2 separate regions of the Homo sapiens genome follow, and region 1 is linked to region 2. Evidence: promoter capture Hi-C in 16 types of primary human blood cells and fetal thymus (Javierre and others, 2016). All regions are on one chromosome and are shown on one strand. Each heading gives the region's core, a stretch centred on a gene start or on the middle of the fragment in contact. The rest is flanking DNA. Distances are from core to core; before and after follow the strand shown. Region 1 has its middle 97 kb from the start of TRMT9B. Region 2 holds the start of DLC1 (DLC1 Rho GTPase activating protein).

What was found. The method cuts DNA at HindIII sites, captures the fragments that hold promoters and counts their contacts. A CHiCAGO score of 5 or more calls a contact.
Region 1: a contact is called between a fragment that was not itself captured here and the fragment with the promoter of DLC1 in region 2, in 6 of 17 cell types (megakaryocytes, endothelial precursors, M1 macrophages and 3 more). The highest score is 10.3, in megakaryocytes.

The regions. Positions count from the first base shown.
Region 1 is chr8:13,040,871-13,045,444 of GRCh38, forward strand. It overlaps the pseudogene RNU6-842P. Among named protein-coding and RNA genes, the nearest start is that of TRMT9B, 97 kb to the left of the region's middle. RefSeq lists a silencer at 339-547. The HindIII fragment of the contact is 1,607 bases long and covers 941-2,547 here.
Region 2 is chr8:13,513,519-13,518,090 of GRCh38, forward strand. DLC1 (DLC1 Rho GTPase activating protein) reads right to left here and starts at 1,333. Exons shown (of 18, transcript NM_182643.3): 1 at 1,084-1,333. The HindIII fragment of the contact is 2,152 bases long and covers 558-2,709 here.

The sequences.
Region 1 (4,574 bases), core at 494-2,993, 470 kb before region 2:
AAACACATCCTTCTTCACGTGGCAGCAGCAAGGAGAAGAATGAAAGCTGAGAGAACAGGAAAGCCCCTTATAAAACCACCAGATCTCATGAGAACTCACTATCATGAGAATAGCATGGGGTTAACCACCCCCATGGTTCAACTACTTCCCACCGGGTCCCTCCCGATTCACATGGGGATTATGAGAACTACAATTTAAGATGAAATTTAGGTGGGGACACAGCCAAACCATATCACCTGTATTTAATTTATATAATAAAATACATTTAATCTATAAATTATGTTAAAAGTACACATTGAAACCTGAAAGGTTTCAAGAAGTCCTATACTAGAGCAAAGAAACCCATTTAACAGTAATCAGCCCCTTGTTTCTCATAATATTTCACTCAAAATCTTTATTTTCCATATAAAATGTATGAACACCTTACGGAGCACTCTTTGGGAAAGGATGCCCAACTTTTAAAAGGAAGACCCAAACAAACCGGTCAACAGAAACAGAGTGCTGCTGTGGTGCCATGCCCGAGACACCTGCCAATAGTCCTCTGCCACTCGCCATCCTTGCATCAGCATCTGGGACATGGTAATTACACTCGACGGCCTGTCACTCCACCTCTCCTCATTCCTCAGCTCACAGAAAAGAGATCTGTGAAACACCAGCTCTGGTCTCGGCAAATATTTGTTTCCCCCTGGCTCCCTGGAAAATGCATTTTTAAAACTGTTCCTACAATTGCAGTATGGCAGCTGCTTTATCAGTGTGTGAAGACAGAACAATGATGTGGCTTAGATACTTGACATTTTGTATTGTTGGAAAGTGGCAAATTGCACTGAGCTGTAAATGCACTGTAAGTGGTGTTGTGTTGAATTATAAAGACAATTAGCACATTTCTTCCTTGTTTCTCGTTTATCTTTTCGTTTGTAAACATGGAAAGCAGAGTGCGATAAGCTTTACACCCCTTATCTGTAAAATGAGCTCAGTGATACTTATCTTGCAGAGTTTTGTAAACCAGAATTTTAAAAATGTTAAACTACCTAAGAGAATACAAAACACATAGCAGCATCCAATAAATGACAATTTTTACTATTTCTTCCACACCTCCTGTTAACATTAAACTCTTGGAGGGTGGAAGAAAGCATGGACATAAAGCACATACAGTCACTAGAGGAAATCAGAATACTGCAATGTTTGAGGTTCTTTGAAAGTTTTTAAAGCGTTTTAAGGGTCCTTAGACATGATCTTTTACAGATGAGAACAAGATGAAGTGAGATTGATAAAAATTAATCAATTTGCCCATGTTTTGCACAGGAGCATAAATTACCAGCAGACAACATCTGGATTCCATACTAAGAACACAAACATCTCACTACAGAGTTACAAACTGAACATGCCTCATGCCTAAAGTGCACACACCTATCAATCTTAGCTTTGCATGGTCCCAAAGACTCTGTAACTTTCACAGATTTGCATGTTTAATAACAAATTTGAATTTTGGGACTACTAAGTCATCTGCTGCAAATGTCACCAGTCCGTTGTTTAAGTTTCTGCGTGTATTTCACTCAACAGGTTTTCTTCATTAAGCACGGTGTTGTCTGTCCATCAGGCAGCAAAGCATCAGCGCATCCTACCACCAGATGGCACTAGACCCACTTGTGGAGGCTCTGGGGGCGCCATCAGCGTGGGACTAGAAGCTGATGAAAAACGAGAAGTTTCATTTCCCGGTTCCATTTAAACGTTCATACTGGGCCATAAAAGCAGATGAATTAGATATGCCATTATCCTGCATATATACATTTATATTTTATTGTATATATATATAAATATATATATATATATATATATAGAGAGAGAGAGAGAGAGAGAGAGAGAGAGAGAGACGGAGTCTCACTCCGTCACCCAGGCTGGAGTGCACTGGCAGGATCTCAACTCACTGCAACCTCTGCCTCCAGGTTCAATCGATTCTCCTGCCTCAGCCTCCTGAGTGGCTGGGATTACAGGAGCGTGCCACCACACGCGGCTAAATTTTGTATTTTTAGTAGAGACGGGGTTTTACTTTGGTCAGGCTAGTCTCGAACTCCTGACCTTGTGATCCGCCCGCCTTGGCCTCCCAAAGTGCTGGGATTGCATGCGTGAGCCACCGCGCGTAGCCTATCCTGCATATTTAAAGTTAATTGTGTTTAATAAAAATAGAGCAGAGATAGAGAAGTGATTGCCAGCCCAGCAGCTCTGAGCTATCTCATATAAGGCTTAGTAGGGAATCCTGACCCACACTCCAATCTCCAAGCTCTAGACATCTCACCAACAAAACAGGAAGCCAACACATTCTGGATCTTCTTTCCAAGATAAAGTCGACCATTCGTAATATTTTTTTCAGAGACAACGGAAGCTGAAAAATAAGAGCTGAGAAAGGAAGAACTTTTCTATAAGAACTTAAATCCAAAAGGCTATGGGATAGTAATGGAAAGTGGAGGAGAACAAAAAAGGCCTGGAAAGTAAAACCAGGAGGAAAAACAAACGTTTTAGAACAGCCAAGTGTGGGGAGTTGGAAAGTGAAGCTTTGAGTAGAAACCAGAGTTACAAAATTTCAGAGCTGAAAGCGGCCTTATAAGGAAGCAGAATTGGGCCCAAGGCCTAAATATTTGCCAAAAACCACGCAGGCAATTAGTGGCAGACAAGAGAGGACCTTCATTTTTGCTAAACAGGGCTCTTTCCACTGAAACATGTGGCCCTCTCAATATCTAACTAAAAACCTTTCACAAAATCCAAGTAAACACAGAGAAACATCCTCTCTTCTGTCTCCACTGCTTTCTCTGTCCACACGTGCACATGTACACACACAGCCACCATTATAACAATACAGGAAATTGAAGGAAACCATCTGAAACTTCAACGTCGGGCACAGCCGCCACAGATAACATATCAAATGCAAGGCTGGAAATCAGCACTGTTCACATTCACACAGGAAGCCCGACTCAAGCTGTTTGACCGTATTTAGTAATCAGTTCCATACTCACAAAAGAATGCCAGAACAAAAACAGACGGAAAAGAAAAAAAAAATAAATCCAACCATCCTTTTCCTTTGGAGGAGGACTTATACCACGAAGTTTAAAGAGAGGCCCAGCTGGTTTATAGAATTCTGCAGGAAATTTGGGGACCTCTGTAATGCCATTGTCTTCACTGGCCCAGGCAAGTAGCCGTACCAAGGCAGTTATGGGGATATTCAAACAAATCAAAGCCATATTTTACCTCAATTGTGCTTATACTTTAGGTGAAAGTATTCTGGACCTAATTATTTCTAATAATCATCAGATGCATCCTGATCTCATGGGAAGTGCTGAGAAAACCTATGGGGCTATTATCCACTTACTAGCTCTGTAAACTTGGGCAACTTAACTGTTCTGAGCCTCTTCCTTCTTCTATAAAAATGAGATTGATTACTATTGCCTTCCAGAATAGTTCTGAGGTGAAAATGAGAGTCAAGTTCTGTGCTCGCTTCAGCAGCACATACACTAAAATTGGAACGATACAGAGAAGATCAGCATGGCCCCTGTGCAAGAATGACATGCAAATTCATGAAGCGTTCCATATTTTTTTCTTAATAAAGCCTCTTTTCTACATATGAAAAAAAAAAGAGAGTCAATGTTCTATGGCACGAAGACACACCAGTAAATATCAGCCATTTCTTTCAGATATAGATAGATAGATAGATAGATAGATAGATAGATAGATAGATAGATAGATTTTTTTTTCCTGAGACAGGGTCTCCTTCTGTCACCCTGGCTGGAATGCAGTGGCAGAATCATGGCTCACAGGAGCCTCAGTCTCCCTGGGCTCAGGTGGTCCTCCCACCTCAGCCTCCCAAGTAGCTGGGACTACAGGCACGCCACCACACATGGCTAATTTTTGTATTTTTTGTAGAGATGAGGTTTCACCATGTTGCCCAGGCTGATCTTGAACCCCTGGAGTCGAACAATCCATCTGTCTCGGTCTCCCAAAGTGTTGGGATTACAGGCATGAGCCGCCGCGCCCGGCCCCATTTAATTGTTCTATTTTGTTTAATTTGGGCGGACTTGGGCCTCAAAGAGAAAAGTGAGAAGAAAATGCCTCATTTACAGTGGAGCCACTGGTGAGTTCTCTTAGACCTAATCTACATCTGAGGTTCTCAAATATTTTGGTCTCAGAACCCACCTACTTTCTTAAAAATTGAGGATTCCAAATGGCTTTTTAAGTCTGGGTTATTGATATTTACTATATTCACAAATAATACTCAGGGTTGGGCGTGGTAGCTCACGCCTGTAACCCCAGCACTATGGGAAGCCGAGGTGGGCAGATCACTTGAGGTCAGGAGTTCGAGACCAGCCTGGCCAACATGGAGAAACTCTATCTCTACTAAAACTAAAAAAATTAGCTGGGCATGGTGGTACACGTTTGTAATCCCACCTAGTTGGGAGGCTGAGGCAGGAGAATCGCTTAAACCTGGGAGGTGAGGTTGCAGTGAGCTGACATCATGCCACCACACTCTAGCCTGGGTGACAGTGAGACTCCACCTCAAAATAAAATAAATAAAATAACAATACTGA
Region 2 (4,572 bases), core at 83-2,582:
AGCTCTCCATCTTTCACTTAGTATATTTTGTATTCATCTAATAGATTTGAAAATGTACATGAATATTTCTTCCCTTTATGTACCATTTTATTTCTATAAAATGATGAATTTTATTATAAATATTCAGAAATATAACAGTATCTTATGCATTATAAGTCCACACTTTTTCGGTCATTACTAAACTTCTTTTCTAATATATTGTACATTTAAACATTTAAGATTACCTTGAAGAGACTACAGTCAGGTGGAAATGTAATTTTACGATTACATAAGTAAGGACACAAACAGTTTCCATATGACTGGAGTGATTTCTGGCTGCCTTAAAAGAGTTATAATGAGTGTCAGTGTCATTGAGATTGACTTCAGTTATTCAAAATATTACACAAAATGTGACCGGAGCAAGCAGTGAATCCAGGAAAATTAATATAAACTAAATTCGATTCCGACATTTAAATTTCCAAAACTCAGATTAAATACTATTTAGGACAGAAATAATTCCTGAAATTTCACGTGTTTACTTTTTTTTTTTAAATGAACCTTTTAAGCTGTACAGGAGAAGCTTGACATATGATTGAAACTGGCTTGGGTAAAATAATAAGAAATTCAATCTTCGTAGTTTTAAATGAGACACAAAATACTCTTTGGAGACTGATTATTAAGCACAAGTCACTCGGGTGCTTTCTACTCTCCCTGTTGGCAAAGGAAGGTAGGGGAGGAATTCATTTACACCTCACACTGATGTGTGAGAAAATGTATTTGTTTCACGTTATGCCAAGAAATAGGAAAACTGATCCGACAGCTCAATTAATAAATAAGTTAAACGTAAAAAGGGATAAAAATAAAATCTTACTTTATGGAGGAAAAGAGTTAAATCTATATGGAGCCTGTTTTAGAACTGACAGTTTGCTAAAACGAATTGACTCAGAATTTTCTACTTATCAAACATTTTCCACTTCTGATTTTATGGCTTTGCTCTAAAACCTAGGAAGTCACCAACTCCGTGCAAGATGCTAACATTTATCTCAATCTTTCTGCCTCTTCAAAGACCGCCTCAAAGCATAAAGATAGTCCATAGCGTCTTACCTAGACAACGAGGAGCTGAAACGCCAAGGCATGACACTGCTCAACACTCAGGCTAGGAAAGAAGTCCGTCCCCGTTAGTTTCTCCAAAATCTAAGTTCCCATTTCGTGGTTGAGATCATGGCTCTATTCTGAGCAGTTTCACGCAGTGTGTGAGTCTAACAAAAACACCCTCTGCAGCTGGAGGGAGCCTTAGCTAAGGCAGGATCCTGTCAAGGCATTCCTAGTGACTTCTGTCTACTAAATTCAGACTGAGGTTTTGCAAAAGGGGCCTCCACAACCAGGCCCAGATTGCCTGGAAAGTATTTCCTGCCTCTGAGGAGTGTGCATGCTAGAAAGGCTGTACGAAGAGAGGGGAGGAGGGGAGAGCCCAGCCGCCTGGGCGTTTTAGGAGTTCTGATTTTACACAGAACTCAAGTGAGTTTTGTCAAAGCTCTTGAGGTGATTAGCTGTAGAGTCATAAAGTCCTAGAGCTTTTTCTATCCCACACTGCTTATGAAAAAAGAAAGAAAGAAAGAAAGAAAACGTAGTTTTCTCTCTATCCACAACCTTTCCACTATATTAAATGTATATGCACAGCTTAATCAAAATGCCTGTGCTTGCTCTCATTTCAAAAGATCTTTTAAGAGAGCAAGATGAATTTAGCCTTAATACCATAATTCTTCTAAATGGCAAAACCTTTTTTGAACATGACTTAAAATTGGAAATGCTGCAGCTTTTCATTCTGTCCCTGAGACCATCTGTAAGTAAAATCCCAAGCATCCAGTTAATAGAACGATTTCTTCCAGATCTCTCTGATCACAAGAATCCTTCACAGAATTAAAATAGTTCGTGTTATGGCAAATGCAGCAGCGCATTACCTCTAGTCAGAATCCTCCAGTTACAAAAATCCAGTGCTGGAGCAGAAGACAGGCTCCATCTTGATCGTATTAGAGTCTTGCTGACATTAAACACTTACAACTGCTTCCATCTAGCATGGCAGCGTTCCTGAATCACATCTCTAAAGCCGCTCATGGTATCTGCATCCTTCGTCCGTCACAAATTTTGTGAACTATCATCTGTTTATCTTTTCTGCTTTCTTGTGCCTCCCTTGAATGACTTCCTCCTAGCTGCTCCAGGTTGGGAATTTGGACTACCATTTGGTTTTGATTAAAACCAGACAGGCAACTCTGGAGAATTTAGGGAATAAGCTAATGGAAACTGCAAGTATGGCTTTAATTAGTGCATCAATTAATAATAGATGTTAGCTCGTCTTATAATAAGATATCACAAATACAAACACAGAGGAAGCTGAAGTCGTTTCAGGAAAAAAGTTACACCAATTTTCCTTCCTTTATGACCCAGAATCCTCTTTAGAGAATGTGGAAGGAAAGAAGAGGGAGGTGGTTTTGGGACATCCAGGCTGTGGAGAGGCCAGTAGAGCAGCTTCATTGTTTATACCAGGGAAGCAGGAAACAGCATCTCTGACTTTAATTATCTTGCTTGGTGGAAATGGCTCAGTCATGTCTCCCTTCTACTTTATTTACAATCAATGGATTTCGCTGCTATTTATGACTCAAGCATTTTTTTGGGGGGGGACTGATGATCAGATTAATTATTAGGTCTATCTGCTTCTTGCAAATTTCTAGAAGCTTTCAATAATAGGAAGTGCAAGAATAATTCCAGTTGGATGTGATAAAATGAGTAACATATAAAGAGGTAAAAGACATCTTAAACTTGTTGGCCCTAAGATCTATCCTGTTCTTCTCTGAAATTGTAAGTAGTTTTCATTGTTCACTGTTATTCTCCATCCCTGTATATCACAAGGGCTATCTTGTAGTACTTTTTGATAATATTGGGTAGGTGATAACTCAAAGATGCACAAGGTTCTAACTACTATTTTTTTCCTTATTAGGTAGCTAAAATCTCTCAAAGTTAATGCAAATCATGAACCATATTAGACCCATGTTAGATGGCAAGAATGACTTATACTGTGCATGAGTTTGAAGATGAGAAGTAGTCAAATAAAAACGTTTGGTCAGAAGCAGCTTTAAAAGTTTAGATCAAAGTCTTATTGACTAAAAACATGAGCATTTAGGTTTCTTTAATTTAATCTTCAACCATAGGCCAAGAAAGAAGTCTGTTCTTCCATAAATTCTTTAAAAAGTATTTATATTTATATTCAAAGTGTTTCTACTGACAGTATGCCTATTTAATCTTTCCAACAATTTTGCGTGTATTCATATGTTTTATTTTACAAATAAAGTATTGAGAAGCAATTTTCTCACAGTCAAATGATACAAAGTGCCCAGGTCCACACTGGAACTCAGATATTCTAGCTCCAAGCTTTGTGCTTTAATTTTTTCTCCATAAACTGCCTTCCTTGACTTCCACTTAATTTCTTTATTAAATTGGGAAGACTTCTTAAACTCTAATAGTTTCTCTTTAAAAATAGAGACAATTTCACATAACTTATAGATTGGAAAGCAGGATGAAATTTATATGCAGAAATATTTGTGTATTTATGTTTATTTCCCTAAGAAAAACACTGGAGAAGAAAGGAATGAGAACTGATATTATGTCTTTCCTAATATAACTTGATATCTCTATCTCTGTCACTGCCTTTAGTACTGATATACAGTGGTTACTCAATATTATATCAGCATCATGCTAATTCTTAGCTACATTTTATTCATGAATACTGTACCCCGCGCCATATACTTTAGTTTTGTTTCTATTTCTATTGGCTTGGGAAAACAAGAAAACTCTGTTCACAAATGCCTTTTAGATATCTAGAAACTCTTGTTAGTAAGTTTCTCATAAACATACCCTTTTCTACACAAAAAATACATTATGTTTTCTTCTATTAATAGGATTACTTCCCAAATCTTTAATTACTTATATTTATTTTTCATTGTTGAGTTGCTTGATTCCAAACAAATCTCAGATCTTATAGTCTTATAAAGGCTTTACCAAATATGAGTGTAAAGATAAATAGTGAGAAAACTTCCTAAGTACTTAGTATTGTGTCAGGAACACTGAAGGAGTTCAAAATATTTGTCCCCTTCTTTCTACTTGCAAATCTAAATACCAACTTCCTTAAATGTTTGACTGTTACTCTGTACTGGATCAGCTAATCAAATAAGGGGACAGGGACAGTTAAGAACTTGAAAACAAAGTATCAGGATAGGAGTCTGCTCCAAAACTAACAGCTTTTGTGACCTGTGTGAGTTACCTAACCGGGGTGAGGATGTCTTAGCTTCCATAACTAAGAATTGTCACAATGCAAAAAGCTAGTCCATATAAAGCCATTAGCTAGAATTATTTTTACCACTTAAATTATTGCCTTTTTTAATGTTTACATCTCTCTTTCAGGTATTTTTAGAATCTTTCTCTCTCTTCTATTGAACTCCAAGTTAAATGTATACATGTGAAACCGTTATAGTGGTGGAACAATTATGTACTCTGTGGAAAGAAGAATAGCAGGAGGTGGATTAAATGGTATTTTAAAGA